Regions from separate parts of the Homo sapiens genome. Here region 1 is linked to region 2. Evidence: promoter capture Hi-C in 16 types of primary human blood cells and fetal thymus (Javierre and others, 2016). All regions are on one chromosome and are shown on one strand. Each heading gives the region's core, a stretch centred on a gene start or on the middle of the fragment in contact. The rest is flanking DNA. Distances are from core to core; before and after follow the strand shown. Region 1 holds the start of TAF6L (TATA-box binding protein associated factor 6 like). Region 2 holds the start of RPS25 (ribosomal protein S25).

Region 1 (7,188 bases), core at 2,569-5,068, about 56 Mb before region 2:
AAAAAAAAGAAAAGAAAAGAGTCTTAGCTGGATGACCTTCTGTTTCCTCATTATAAAATGGGCAGAAAACCCTCTTTGGAGGCTGCTGTATCAGACATCATATGTTCAAGTGGCTGGCATAGAGCCTGGTCCATGATGGGCACTCAACTTTTAATTATCATAATTATTATATAATGCATCCCAAAGCCAGTGCAGTGGTGTGTATCTGTAGTCTCAGGTACTTAGGAGGCTGAGGTGGGAGGATCACTGGAGTCCTGGAGTTCTTCCTAAGTTCTCAAATAGGGGAATAACACCAAGCCTGAAAGGAAGAAATTGATGGACAGAGAAGCAGCTCATGGATCCTGAGCATGTGGGTGCTGGTGAGGATGTAGGGTGTGGCATCGAAAAGGCTGGCACTAATTAAAAAAAAAAAGGAAAAAAAAAAAGCCTGGCACTCTAGTGGGGAAGGGAACAAGTGGGGATGCCCTGGAGATGGTTTCCAGAACTCTTCTGAGCTTTTTTTTTTTTTTTTTTTTGAGACAGAGTCTCACTCTGTCGCCCAGGCTGGAGTGCAATGGTACGATCTTGGCTCACCGAAACCTCCGCCTCCTGGGTTCAAGGGATTCTCCTGCCTCAGCCTCCCAAGTAGCTGGGATTACAGGCATGTGCCACCACGCCCAACTAATTTTGTATTTTTAGTAGAGACAAGGTATCTCCATGTTGATCAGGCTGGTCTCAAACTCCTGACCTCAGGTGATCTGCCCGCCTCGGCCTCCCAAAGTGCTGGGATTACAGGCATGAGCCGCCGCGCCCCGCCTCTTCTGAGCTTTTAAGGTTGGTACTAAGGGATTCTGAAAGTTACAGCCTCCTAAAGCGGTCACAGGCTAATAGAGTACCATGTGCTTGGCAACATGCTAAATCCTTTACACACTTTTCTGAATCTTCACAACAGTTCCATGGAGTAGATTTCGTTATCCCGCTTTATAGTTGATGAGACAGGTCAGACAGGTGAACTAATATGCCTAAGGTCACACAGCTGGTGAGCTGTGATTTTTTAAAAACAGTCTGGGCTTGTTGTGGTGGCTCATGCCTGTAATCCCAGCACTTTGAGAGGCCGAGGTGCGCGGATCACTTGAGGTCAGGAGTTTGAGAACAGCCTAGCCAACATGGCAAAACCCAGTCTCTACTAAAAATACGACAATTAGCCAGGTATGGTGGTGCGTGCCTGTAATCCCAGCTACTCAGGAGGCTGAGGCACAAGAATCGCTTGAACCGGGGAGGTGGAGGTTGCAGTAAGCTGAGATTGCTCCACTGCATTCTAGCCTTAGCAACAGAGCAAGGACTCTGTCTCAAAAAAAAAAAAAAAAAAAAATTGGCCGGGCATGGTGGCTCATGCCTGTAATCCCAGCACTTCGGGAAGCTGAGGCGGGCGGATCACAAGGTCAGGAGTTGAAGACCAGCCTGGCCAACATGGCGAAACCCCATCTTTACTAAAAATACAAAACTTACAGCACTTAGCCAGGCATGGTGTCGGACACCTGTAATCCCAGCTCCTCCAGAGGCTAAGGCAGGAGAATCACTTGAAACTGGGAGGGCAGAGGTTGCAGTGAGCTATCACGCCACTGCACTCCAACCTGGGCGACAGAGCGAGACTCAGTTTCAAAAAATAAATAAAAATAAAAATAAATGAATAAAAACAGTCTGACTTTGACCAGGCACAGTGGCTCATGCCTGTAATCCCAGCACTTTGGGAGGCAGAGGCGGGTGGATCACAAGGTCAGGAGTTGGAGACCAGCCTAGCCAACATGGTGAAAACCCTGTCTCTACTAAAAACACAAAAATTAGCTGGTGGTAGTGGCAAGTGCCTGTAATCCCAGCTACTTGGGAGGTTGAGGCAGGAGAATCATTTGAACCTGGGAGGTGGAGGTTGTAGTGAGCCAAGATTGCGCCACTGCACTCCAGCCTGGGCAACAGGGTGTTACTCCGTCTCAAAAAAAGGAAAAAAGAAAAAAAGTCTGACACCAAAGCCATCATAGTTCTTGCCAGGCATTGGGTGTGTGGAGCGAGCCACCTTTCTCCCATCTGTGGCCATGGAGGTCTCACTACTGCCTTCCCTGGTTCCTGCCTCCACTCAGATTGGGAGCAAATGAGCTCCAGACAGGTTGGATACAGGTTCACTACATCTAATAGGTCCCGGGCAGTCCCGGTCTCCCTCCCATCTTCTAGTGTCTCCAAGGTTGCTGATGGCTGTCCAGAACAGTAAACCTAAGCAAGGAGGTCAGCCAGCTGCCCAGGTCTGGCTAAGCTGACTTCAGGCTCAGTCAGACCTTAGAGGAGAGCGCCCTCTCTCTTTCCCTTAACGCACAGGTGGGCAGACACTTGAAACCACTTCTAATATGGTTCTGAATATGAGTGGAAGAGACTCAGCAGGGTCACATTCTCCTTAGGTGGGGTTGCCATGGCAACCACAGTCGCATCCATCTGGCTTTGCCAGCTCGGGTCCCAGGGGATTTTCTTTTCCAGCGGCAGCAGCATCTAACCCTGAGAGGGGGAAAGAGAAAAAATGTGTACATTCATGCTCCCTTGCAGAATGTTCCCACAGTTCACTCAGTGCAAACTACCCCATCTTGGGTGAACTTAAAGGAATTCACTGTATGCCTTGTGACATGTGAGGGAAAGAAAGTTTCTCTCTTTTTTTTTTGAGACGGAGATTCACTCTTGTTGGCCAGGTTGGAGTGCAGTGGCGCGATCTCGGCTCACCACAACCTCCGCCTCCCGGGTTCAAGCAATTCTCCTGCCTCAGCCTCCCGAGTAGCTGCGATTACAGGCATGTGCCAACACACCCGGCTAATTTTGTATTTTTAGTTGAGATGGATTTTTCTCCATGTTGATCAGGCTGGTCTTGAACTCCCGACCCCAGGTGATCCCCCGCCTCGGCCTCTCAAAATGTTGGGATTACAGGCGTGAGCCACCGCGCCCGGCCGGGAAAGAAGTTTAACCTCCAACTCTGCCAGGGACTCTCACAGACATTAATTTACAACAACCCTGTGAAGTGCGCATTATTACTCCATATTAGGTAATTTGCCCAAAGGCAGTGTCAGAATTTTAACCCAGGTCGGTCTGATTCCAAATACCATCCTTTACTCACTAAGCCCACTGCTTATCAATTAAGAACTGCCCAAGTAGCTGCTATTGCAGTGGGAGTTGGAGAAAGAGAGCTGTCAGTGTGCGTGTCCAACGGTCATGCAAGGCGAGGTAGGCCAGGGCTTGTATTTGGTTCACAGGCGTGGGGAGAATGCGAAGTAGGTGCAGAAAGAGCAGAACCCTGGAGTCCGGAGCTTGCACGGGATGTTCGGCCGGGTCAGAAGTCCCTTCTGCCTGCCGAGAACACCTACCGAGAGCCCCATCTATCCCTTCAGGAAGGGGAAGTGGCATGTGATGTTGGGGAGGTAGGCCGGGCAGGAAAACTAAGCCAGACACCAAAATCTAAAGCTTTGCTGCAGTCGCGAAAATGCGGGTGCTCAGAAACTCGCGAGCAAACAAGACAAAGAAAATCAAGACGCTGTCTTTGAGACTGTTTATTTCCTCGTTACTATTGTGGTGGTAAAAAAAATAAAATATGCTTATTAAACGTGTGTTAAAACAATACACACCTACTCGCAAACGTAGCAAGAGAGGTTGCTTTAAGAAGCGGGAATCTTCAGCGTCACGTGACCGCCGGTCTCTACAGTCTGTTCACACTGGCCAATCAAGAGCCAGGAAGCCTCCTGGAGGGCCGGAAACTTTCCAAGGCGCCCGCCGACTGGCTGTATTGGGGAGGGCGGGGCCGGGGCCCCGGGAGAGGGAATGAGTGTGAGCTCGTGAGTGGGCGCCGCCGCCACCGCCCCCGCCGCCGTCGTCTCGGTAGCAGCCTTCGCCACGCCGGGGTCTTCAGGTGAGCAGGCCTTGCTCTGGTCCAAGGACTCCCCATTCCCGACGCCGACTGCTTACTCACCAGTCTTGGAGCCCGCACCGCGAGGGCCCGCCCCCTTGGCTGACCACGTGACCCAAGTTCAGTGACCCCTGACCTCCTCCCCCCGCGCACCCCCTCCCCGATCTGGGCTGGGCTAGGCCGGGTGGGAGGATGCGCGTTGCCGAGGCCCGGCCCGCGGAGGTCAGTTCCCACGCCTCCTCTCCAGCGTGACTAGTGGCTGAGGATGCGGAGGAGAGGAGGCTGAGGAGCGGGAGACTTTGGTCACAGTCTAGATTTCGTGTACGGTCATATAATAGGGAAACTCCCTCCGTGCCTTTCGCGCTGGTGGACTAAATGCTCCCATTTTACAGATAGGGAAACTGCAGCTTCACAACGATCTATTGGCGGGTCTAGGGTCACCAAGGGGTGGGTCTCCAATCCATGTCTTTGGGGTGGGATCCAGGCCTTGTTCCCCATACAGCTGGCGGCTCCTGAATGCGGTATAGAGTAAAGATTAGGAGCAAGGGGTTGAGTCCTTGCTCCCCCTCCCTACTTACTCAGTGCTTACTTCATGATCTTGGAGAAGTCATGGAACATTTAGCCTCTGAGGTTTGATTTCCTTGCCTGTGAAATAGACGAAATACATAATAATATCTTATTATTGAGAATATAGTGAAGTAATCCATATAAAGCACTTAGCTGTGTCTCAGGCATAGTACAGTGCTATTCGTGGCCGGGCGCGGTGGCTCACGCCTGTAATCCTAGCACTTTGGGAGGCCGAGGCACCTGGATTGCCTGAGCTCAGGAGTTCGAGGCCAGCCTGGGCAACACGGTGAAACCTCGTCTCTACTAAAAATACAAAAAATTAGCTGGGCATGGCGGCGTATGCCTGTAGTCCTAGCTACTCGGGAGGCTGAGGCAGGAGAATTGCTTGAACCAGGGAGGCAGAGGTTGTAGTGAGCCGAGATCACGCCACTGTACTCCAGCCTGGGTGACAGAGCGAGACTGTGTCTCCAAAAAAAAAAAAAAAGCTCGTCGGGCCAGGTGCGGTGGCTCTCACGCCTGTAATTTCAGCACTTTGGAGGCCGAGGTGGGCGGATCACCTGAGGTCAGGAGTTCCAGACCAGCTTGGCTACCATGGCGAAACTCCATCCCTACTAAAAATACAAAAATTAGCCAGGTGTGGCGGCACAGGCCTGTAATCCCAGCTACTCGGGAAGCGGAGGTTTTAGTGAGCCGAGATCAAGCCACTGCACTCCAGCCTGGGTGACAGAGTGAGACATCAGACATCATCTCCAAAAAAAAAAAAAAAGAATAGTTCTTCTTTCTTTCTTTTAGAAGATCTTTTTTTTTTGTTTGTTTTTGTTTTTTGTTTTGTGTTTTTTTTGAGACTGAGTTTAGCTCTGTCATCCAGGCTGGAGTGCAGTGGTGCAATCTCGGCTCACTGCAGCCTCTGCCTCCTGGGTTCAAGTGATTCTCCTGCCTCAGCCTCCTGGGTAATTTTTTGTATTTTTAGTAGAGACAGGGTTTCACCGTGTTAGCCAGGATGGTCTTCATCTCCTGACCTCGTGATCCACCAGCTTCGGCCTCCCAAAGTGCTGGGATTACAGGCGTGAGCCACCATGCCTGGCCTATAATTACAAATTTTTTTTTTTTTGAGATGGAGTCTTGCTCTGTCGCCCAGGCTGGAGTGCAGTGGTGCGATCTTGGCTCACTACAACCTCCACCTCCCGGGTTCAAGCAATTCTCCTGCCTCAGCCTCCGGAGTAGCTGGGACTACAGGCGCGGACCACCATGCCTAGCTAATTTTTGTATTTTTAGTAGAGACGAGGTTTCACCATATTGTCCAGGCTGGTCTAGAACTCCTGACCTTGTGATCCACCCGCCTTGGCTTCCCAAAGTGCTGGGATTACAGATGAGCCACTGCGCCCGGCCTACAATTTTTTTTTTTTTTTTGAGACGGAGTTTTCCCCTTGTTACCCAGAATGGAGTGCACTGGTGCGATCTTGACTCACTGCAACCTCTGTCTCACGGGTTCAAGCGATTCTCCTGCCTCAGCCTTGCGAGTAGCTGGGATTACAGGCATGTGCCACCACACCTGGCTAATTTTGTATTTGTAGTAGAGATGGGGGTTTTTCTATGTTGGTCAGGCTGGTCTTGAACTCCTGACCTCAGGTGATTCGCCCGCCTTGGCCTCCGAAAGTGCTGGGATTAGAGGCGTGAGCCACTGGGTCCAGCTACAAATTCTTACGACTGGTTTGGAGGCAGAATGCAAGGACATTGGAGGATCTAGGAAGACATCCCTGAGCAAGTGACATTTGAACTGAAATCTGAAGGAGTGAGTAGCAGTTCACTAGACAAAGGGATTGGGGGTGGAGGACAGGGAGGAGAGAGTTCCAAGTGGAGGAAGCAGTGTTCAAAGGTCCTAAAATAGGTGTATTTGAGGAACTGAAAGGAGGACACAGGTGGGAATACAGAACACAAGAAAGTAGGAGATAAGAGGTAAGAGGTATTGCAGAAGTAGGCAGTACATGCAGAGCCTCCAGAGCCATTGTTCAGATTTGTTCTTTATTTCTTTTTTTTTTTGAGACGGAGTCTTGCTCTGTTGCCCAGGCTGGAGTGCAGTGGCGTGATCTCGGCTCACTGCAATCTCCGCCTCCTGGGTTCACGCCATTCTCCTGCCTCAGCCTCCCGAGTAGCTGGGACTACAGGCGCCCGCCACCAAGCCCAGCTAATTTTTTGTATTTTTAGTAGAGATGGGGTTTCACCGTGTTAACCAGGATGGTCTGGATCTCCTGACCTTGTGATCCGCCTGCCTCGGCCTCCCAAAGTGCTGGGATTACAGGCGTGAGCCACCGCGCCCGGCCCAAATTTGTTCTTTATTTCAAAGACAATGGGGAGCCATTGGGAGGAGTGCTGCACAGAAGCCACATAGCTGTCCATTGGATGTAGGGACCTGGACGTCACTGGTGACCCATTGATCCCCTGCCAGAGGAGTAGTGGGGGCAATGCCTGGGTGGGTCATCCTGGATCTGGGCCTTCCTGTCTGAGGTGTGGATGCATCACTTTGGCGCACGGGAGCCTACCTTCTGGTGCTGTGCGTTGTTGGAGTGAGTCATCAGCTGCTGTTTTTGTCGGTTTCTTATTGTGCTATACCCTGTGAACAAAACAGGTTCCAGCATTTAGGCACTGCAGCCAAACTGGGGAAGACCAAACACATAGGCAGAAAGCCCAGCTACTATCCAGCCTGGCCAACA
Region 2 (6,982 bases), core at 4,398-6,897:
AAATCATTGTACCACTTATGATTTTACTCTACACTTCAGCTGTATTGTGTTGCTTCGGGCTTTTGCAGTTGCCATTGTCTAAAACCTGCTTTCCTTCCCTCATCACCTAGTTTACCTTCAACTGTTAGCTCAAATGTCACTTTTTCATAAAAGGCTTATCTGAACAGGTTATCTCTATTTCAAGTGGATGTAGCACCATGTAAAGTTGCAAATGTAATTTACGTAACTTGTGCTTAATGCTCTTCCCCAATTATATGTATGCTGTGAGGGCAAGGTTTTGCTCCCCTGGCATGTAATAGCCACTCTACTTACAGACATCTCCACTGTTATGACTGTGAGCTTCCTGAGGACAGGGTTGTCTTAGAGTGACTTACTGTGCTTTCAAAGTTTAACATCAGCTGGGGTGCAGAATTAGCATTGTGGCAGCAGTCACACCCACCTCTTTTAAAGTGTGCTTTGTCTATCGTTTCTAGGATTTTTTTTTTTAATCATGCCTAGACTTTAACTAGCACTTTTTTTCCCATTTCCAACTACAGGATATACCAGGAGTTGGTAACATCCACTCAGGTAAGGTCCAGGGCAGTGTTTTTAAAACCCTGGGAGATTTTTTTTTTTTTTTGAGATGGAGTCTTGTTCTGTCGCCAGGCTGGAGTGCAGTGGCGCAATCTCAGCTCGCTGCAACCTCTGCCTCTCAGGTTCAAGTGATTCTTCTGCCTCAGCCTCCCAAGTAGCTGGGGTTACAGGTGTGCACCACCACACCCAGCTAATTTTTTTTTTTTTTTTTTTGAGACGGAGTCTCGCTCTGTCGCCCAGGCTGGAGTGCAGTGGCGGGATCTCGGCTCACTGCAAGCTCCGCCTCCCGGGTTCACGCCATTCTCCTGCCTCAGCCTCCCAAGTAGCTGGGACTACAGGCGCCCGCCACTACGCCCAGCTAATTTTTTGTATTTTCAGTAGAGACGGGGTTTCACCGTTTTAGCCGGGATGGTCTCGATCTCCTGACCTCGTGATCCACCCGCCTCGGCCTCCCAAAGTGCTGGGATTACAGGCATGAGCCACCGTGCCCGGACTTTTTTTTTTTTTTTAAATAAAGTTGGCCAAGATAAAGCGTATGTATCGGTAAAAGCCTTATATCCAGAATATATGAAGAACTGTCAACTTGATAAGGAAACAACCCAATAAAAGCATATGAATAATGTTCAACATTAGTCATTAGAGAAATGCAAATTAAAACCACAGTGAAATACCACTACATATGTATTGGAATGGCAGAAATTAAAGACTGATCATGCCAAGTGTTTGGCAGTGTAGAAAAACCAAACCTTCATACACTGCTCTTAGAATGTAAACTGGTACAGTCACTTTGGAAAACAGTTTGGGATACACCTACCACATTATCCAACCGTTCCACCCCTAACTAGAGAAAAGAAAGCCTGTCTACATAGACTTGTACACAAATCTTCAGAACAGCTTCACTTGTAGCAGCTCCAAATTGGAAACAATTCAGATGTCTATCAACAGGCAAATGGATTAACAATGGAATAGTATTCCAGGATGAAGACAGAATTATTGATACGTACGACACAGATGAATCTCAGAAGTCCAGACCTGGCCGGCGTGGTGGCTCATGCCTGTAATCCCGACACTTTGGGAGGCCAAGGCAGGCGGATCACGAGGTCAGGAGTTCAAGACCAGTTTGGCCAACATGGTGAAACCCCATCTCTACTAAAAATTCAAAAATTAGCTGGGCATCGCAGCGCACGCCTGTAATCCCAGCTACTTGGGAGGCTGAGGCAGAATTGTTTGAACCGAGACCTGGGAGGCGGAGGTTGCAGTGAGCTGAGATTGTGTCCAGCCTGGGCTAGAGCGAGACTCCTCTCAAAAAAACAAAAGGCCAGACCCCACCTCAATGTCCACACACAGAAAATCCTAAAAAATACAAACCAATAAAGCAACTGAAAGATCACCGATTGCCTGGACATGAAAATATTTTAATGGGGGCAGTGATACTTACAGGGGGATGTTTGGGGTCTAGATTGTAATGGCTTCGCTCAAAAGTCACCAAATTTAAGTGTGTATCGTTTATGTCAGTTGTGCCTCAAAGCCATTTTAAAATGACTGTCACATATGGGGTATGTCGCTTTAAATTAGCCTAGGGCCTTCTAAAGCTCCAGAATTCCTGGGCTTTGCTTTTAGACATTTCTAGCTCTTAATGAGGAGAGGTAAGCTAACAGCTAGGACATGTTTCACAATAGCCTGAAGACTTAAAAAAAAAAAAAAAAGCCTTAATTTTTTTTTCAGGTGCCACACCTCCCTGGATGATCCAAGATGAAGAATACATTGCTGGGAACCAAGAAATAGGACCATCCTATGAAGAATTTCTTAAAGAAAGTAAGTAAACTAATTCAAGAGAGGATCGTCTAAATCTTCACACTCAAAAATGGTTTCCTTGCCTGTGTGTGGTGGCTCATGGCTATAATCCTAGCATTTTGGGAGGCTGAGGTGGGAGGGTCACTTGAGCCCAGAAGTTTGAAAACAGCCTGGACAACATAGTGAGACCCCATCTCTATATTCTTCAATAAAGAAAAATAAAAGTTTCCCTATCATTGTACAGAGGAAAAACAGAAGTTGAAAAAACTCCCCCCAGACCGAGTTGGGGCCAACTTTGATCACAGCTCCAGGACCAGTGCAGGCTGGCTGCCCTCTTTTGGCCGCGTCTGGAATAATGGACGCCGCTGGCAGTCCAGGTATGTGTGTTCAGTGCCGGGTCTCCAACCTACCCATCCAACCTCCTTTTTGGAGATGTCACCCTTCATCATCGTGTTAACCCTTTATTTCCTTTCAGACATCAATTCAAAACTGAAGCTGCAGCAATGAAGAAGCAGTCACATACAGAAAAAAGCTAATCATGCTCTCTACCAACTACCATGAGGCTAAAAGCAAAGTCAACAAACCCCTATTATACCTTCCACCAAATTCTTTATCATTGTCTTTCTTAGGAAACAGACATACTCATTCATTTGATTTAATAAAGTTTTATTTTTCCAAATGTACAGCTGGTTGGACCTGTAAAAAAAAATTAAAAGAATCAGAACCATAAAGCTTTGTATCTACCTCCTACACCATGAGCCCACACATTCCTACTCACCTATTCATGCATCTTCACCAGCAGCTGGAGCATCTCCACCCTTGGTATTTCTGGTGTAAATTACTTGAGCTCTGTGCTTTGAAACCAGTTTGATAAGTCCTAGGGGGAGAGAATAGCACGATGAGATGCTTAACAGATGCTACAATAGAAACTAGTAAGGTTTTTGGCTGGGCGCGGTGGCTCATGCTTATAATCCCACTGCTTTGGGAGGTGGAGACGGGCAGATAGCTTGAGGTAAGGAGTTGCACACCAGCCTGGCCAACAAGGTGAAACCCCATCTCTACCAAAAATACAAAAATTAGCTGGGCATGGTGGCACATGCTTGTAATTCCAGCTACTTGGGAAGCTGAGGTGAGGACCACCTGAACCCAGGAATTGGTGGTTGCATTGAGCCAAGACTGCCCCTCCGCACTCCAACCTGGGCAACAGAATGAGACTCTAGTAAGGTTTGTTTTGGCCGGGTGCAGAGGCTCATGCCTGTAATCCCAGCACTTTGGACAGGTGGATCTCTTGAGCCCAGGAGACCAGCCTGGGCAACATGGCAAAACCGCATCTCTATTTAAAGAAAAGGAAAACAAAAAGACAGAGTTCTCTCAGAGGTGCCCAGAATGGTCTTAAAACTCCTTGGCTCAAATGATCCTCCTGCTTTGGCCTCCCAAGTAGCTAGAAATACAAGGGTACCACTGCACCTGGCTCCAGAATTGCTTAATCTGACGTTCGGTAACCGAGAATCCTAGTTTTTAACGATCATCTATCCTTACTTTTCCTTTAAATTAGGGCTCCATTATCTTCCACCCCCCCCCCCTTTCTGAGACAGTCTTTTGCTGTCACTAAGGCTGGAGTGCAGTGGTGTCATCTCGGCTCACTGCCACCTCCATCTCCTGGGTTCAAGGGATCCTCATGCCTCAGCATCCTGAGTAGCTGGGATTACAGACGTGTGCCCCCACGTCCAGCTAACTTTCAGTAGAGCAGGTTTTCACCATATTGGCCAGGCTGGTCTTTAACTCCTGACCTCCGTTGATTCACCCGCCTTGGCCTCCCAAAGTGCTAGAATTATAGACGTTCAGTCACTATAGTTAGCTGAGCCTTATTATTGTGGAATTATGGTAATCAGACCATACTACTGAGTAGACCGTACTAAATTTCTGGTTTTAAAATTTAATACATCAACAAAATATTTACCATAAAGGTTTTAAACATTTTCAAAGTTGTTTCAAAATAGTAATCTAATTATTTCAAAAACGGTTGTCCCTGTAATTCTATGCATCCATTTACTCGAAACATAAAAGATCCTTGGGCTTCACTAAACTGCCACAGGGTCCACGGCACAAAAGTGGCTAAGAACCCTGAGAATTCATCTCAGGATCAGGAGTAAGACGTCAGAATTACATTACTAACAGCCAATGGTCAAGCCACGCTTTTTTTTTTTAATTCTGCTTTTCCAGCAAAACCACTGAAGATGCTTAACATGGTCAAGACAATTTAACCTACAAAAACACACATGTAGGATACACCCCTCACCTTTACTAAGGAGCTCCTGAAGGGCTGCCCTGGCCAGGGAGCCTCGAATCTTCAGTCTCTCAGAGACCACAGCTGGGGTTATAAGTTTATAGTTGGGAACTTCCTTACAGAGTTTATCATAGGTAGCTTTGTCAAACAAGACTAAGTTATTGAGCTTGTCCCGAACTTTGCCTTTGGACCACTTCTGCTCACCAAAACAAAACAGAAACAAGTTAGTATTTCTGGCAGAAGCACCCTTTCCCTCTCGAGTAATCTGCGTCAGAGAAATCTGTTCCACCGTTATCAAGGATAAATTACACATTACTAAAACAAAAACAAAAAAAAAACACCGACACGTTTTTGGCCTTCAAACAGGGGCCGAGCCCCACTAGATCAGTTAAAAATAACACAGCAGGCACAGCGGCAGACACTTCGCACAACAGACCCATTTTCATGATCCTAATGGGAAAAAGAACGAGTGGTGACGGGAAGATAAACTCTCACATTTTGACTCTAGAAATCTACACCTGAAAAACCACTTACTATACAAGTTACCTATTACTAGAGGATTACGAGAGAGTTACCCCTAGTCTCTTTCAGAGAGGTCTTATTTCTACCTTCTTTTTGGCCTTGCCCCCGGATTTGTTCACTGGGTCTTTGTCTTTCTTGGCCGACTTTCCAGCGTCCTTCTTCTTCTTGTCGTCCTTAGGCGGCTGTAGGAGGGCAGCGGGAATGCAACCAGGTCCTCAAATAGCGCCAAAGTCCCCTAATACTGCGCCCTCAGCCCCCGCAAACTCCACCACCAGAGCACATGGGCCAAGCAATAACCGCGCCCGCCCTGCAACCGAGGCCGGCAGGCCAAGGAGCGCTCCCGCCGAAGGCTCTCCCCACTGAGTCCTCAAACCCAAGAACGCCGGCGACTTCACACCCCTGAAGCTTACCATTGCGAAGCTCGGAGAATAGCAGCAGACACCGCAGCCTCGTCAAGATGTCGGACAAAAAGGAAGCGCTGCTCAGAAACGGGCCCAAAAACCACCGTCCGCTGTGAGTACTTCCGGGGCAAAAGGCGGAGCCAGGCAGAAGAAGTCCCACGGCGAAGCGCTCGCCCTCTAGCCTGAGGCGGAAGACAGGAAGTGGATTCTAGTTCCCAAGCCGCACCGCCTAAATACTGCCGGAGTCTGCGCTAGTTGTGACGCATACTATAGCGCTGTTTTCCTGCACTGATAAACGAAAAGCAATCCACCAGGTCTCGGCAGCTAACTTTCCGGCACTACTTATGCCCGAGCGTGTCGCTCCCAGTGCGCAAGTGCAGCAGGTGGCTGCACGGGGGGCGCGGGAGGAGGAGGAGGAGGAGGAGGAGGCTGGGGTGGGGCCGGCGGCAAGTGCTGTGATGCGGTTCCGGGGAGGGGCCGTCGGGTAGAGGCTGAATACCAGTTTCCGAGCGGCAAGGCAGCGATGGCGATTTTTAGTGTGTATGTGGTGAACAAAGCTGGCGGCTTGATTTACCAGTTGGACAGCTACGCGCCACGGGCTGAGGCTGAGAAAACTTTCAGTTATCCGCTGGATCTGCTGCTCAAGCTACACGATGAGCGTGTGTTGGTTGCTTTCGGCCAGCGGGACGGCATCCGAGGTGGGCTAGGCTCGGGCCCGTGGCGGGTGCGGGGGTGGGAGGGCCCCAGTGCTGTAGAAGTGGGCTGGTTGTAGGTGCGGGGTTGGGGGAAAAGGGGTTGTGTCGGGTCCCTTGTCCCCTCGGCGGAATCCCCGGGCTGCACCTTCGCTGACCGTTAGCTTCACCTCTGCAGTGGGTCATGCAGTGCTGGCCATCAATGGCATGGACGTGAATGGCAGGTACACGGCCGACGGGAAAGAGGTGCTGGAGTATCTGGGTAACCCTGCTAATTACCCGGTGTCCATTCGATTTGGCCGGCCCCGCCTCACTTCTAATGAGAAGCTTATGCTGGCCTCCATGTTCCACTCGTAAGTCCCCCGTCTCCTGAACGGCAGCGCTTGTAATTTGTCTACCTTTTCTTAAATCGTCGTTCTGGTGTTATGAAAAACGCAACCGATCCAGATCTAGATTTTAGGTAATAACGGCAGTGGTGTCATCTTTTTTTGCTGGGTGGGGAGGGGCCGCGGAGTTACCCAGGCTGGAGCGCAGTGGCGGGATCTCGGCTCACTGCAGCCTCTGCCTCCCAGGTTCAAGCGATTCTCCTGCCTCAGCCTCCCGAGTAGCTGGGATTACAGGCGCGTGCCACCACGACCAGCTAATTTTTGTATTTTTAGTAGAGAGGGGTTTTGCCATGTTGGCCAGGCTGGTCTCAAACTCCTGACCTCAGG

The links. Contacts are between HindIII fragments. The CHiCAGO score rates a contact against its expected background, and 5 or more counts as called.
Region 1: a contact is called between the fragment with the promoter of TAF6L here and the fragment with the promoter of RPS25 in region 2, in 1 of 17 cell types (fetal thymus). The highest score is 7.6, in fetal thymus.

The regions. Positions count from the first base shown.
Region 1 is chr11:62,767,578-62,774,765 of GRCh38, forward strand. TAF6L (TATA-box binding protein associated factor 6 like) reads left to right here and starts at 3,819. Exons shown (of 11, transcript NM_006473.4): 1 at 3,819-3,913. It also overlaps a transcript of TMEM223 not described here. RefSeq lists enhancers at 2,057-2,106, 4,269-4,408 and a silencer at 3,669-4,078. The HindIII fragment of the contact is 6,431 bases long and covers 3,470-7,188 here.
Region 2 is chr11:119,012,696-119,019,677 of GRCh38, forward strand. RPS25 (ribosomal protein S25) reads right to left here and starts at 5,648. Exons shown (of 5, transcript NM_001028.3): 1 at 5,587-5,648; 2 at 5,263-5,358; 3 at 4,667-4,850; 4 at 3,146-3,244; 5 at 3,022-3,063. The coding sequence starts at 5,589. The coding sequence ends at 3,150. TRAPPC4 (trafficking protein particle complex subunit 4) reads left to right here and starts at 6,071. Exons shown (of 5, transcript NM_016146.6): 1 at 6,071-6,275; 2 at 6,448-6,622. The coding sequence starts at 6,101. It overlaps CENATAC (centrosomal AT-AC splicing factor), which reads left to right. Exons shown (of 11, transcript NM_198489.3): 8 at 537-567; 9 at 2,299-2,388; 10 at 2,612-2,744; 11 at 2,843-3,098. The coding sequence ends at 2,903. RefSeq lists enhancers at 5,370-5,439, 5,460-5,689, 5,944-6,642 and a silencer at 5,930-6,049. The HindIII fragment of the contact is 1,015 bases long and covers 5,580-6,594 here.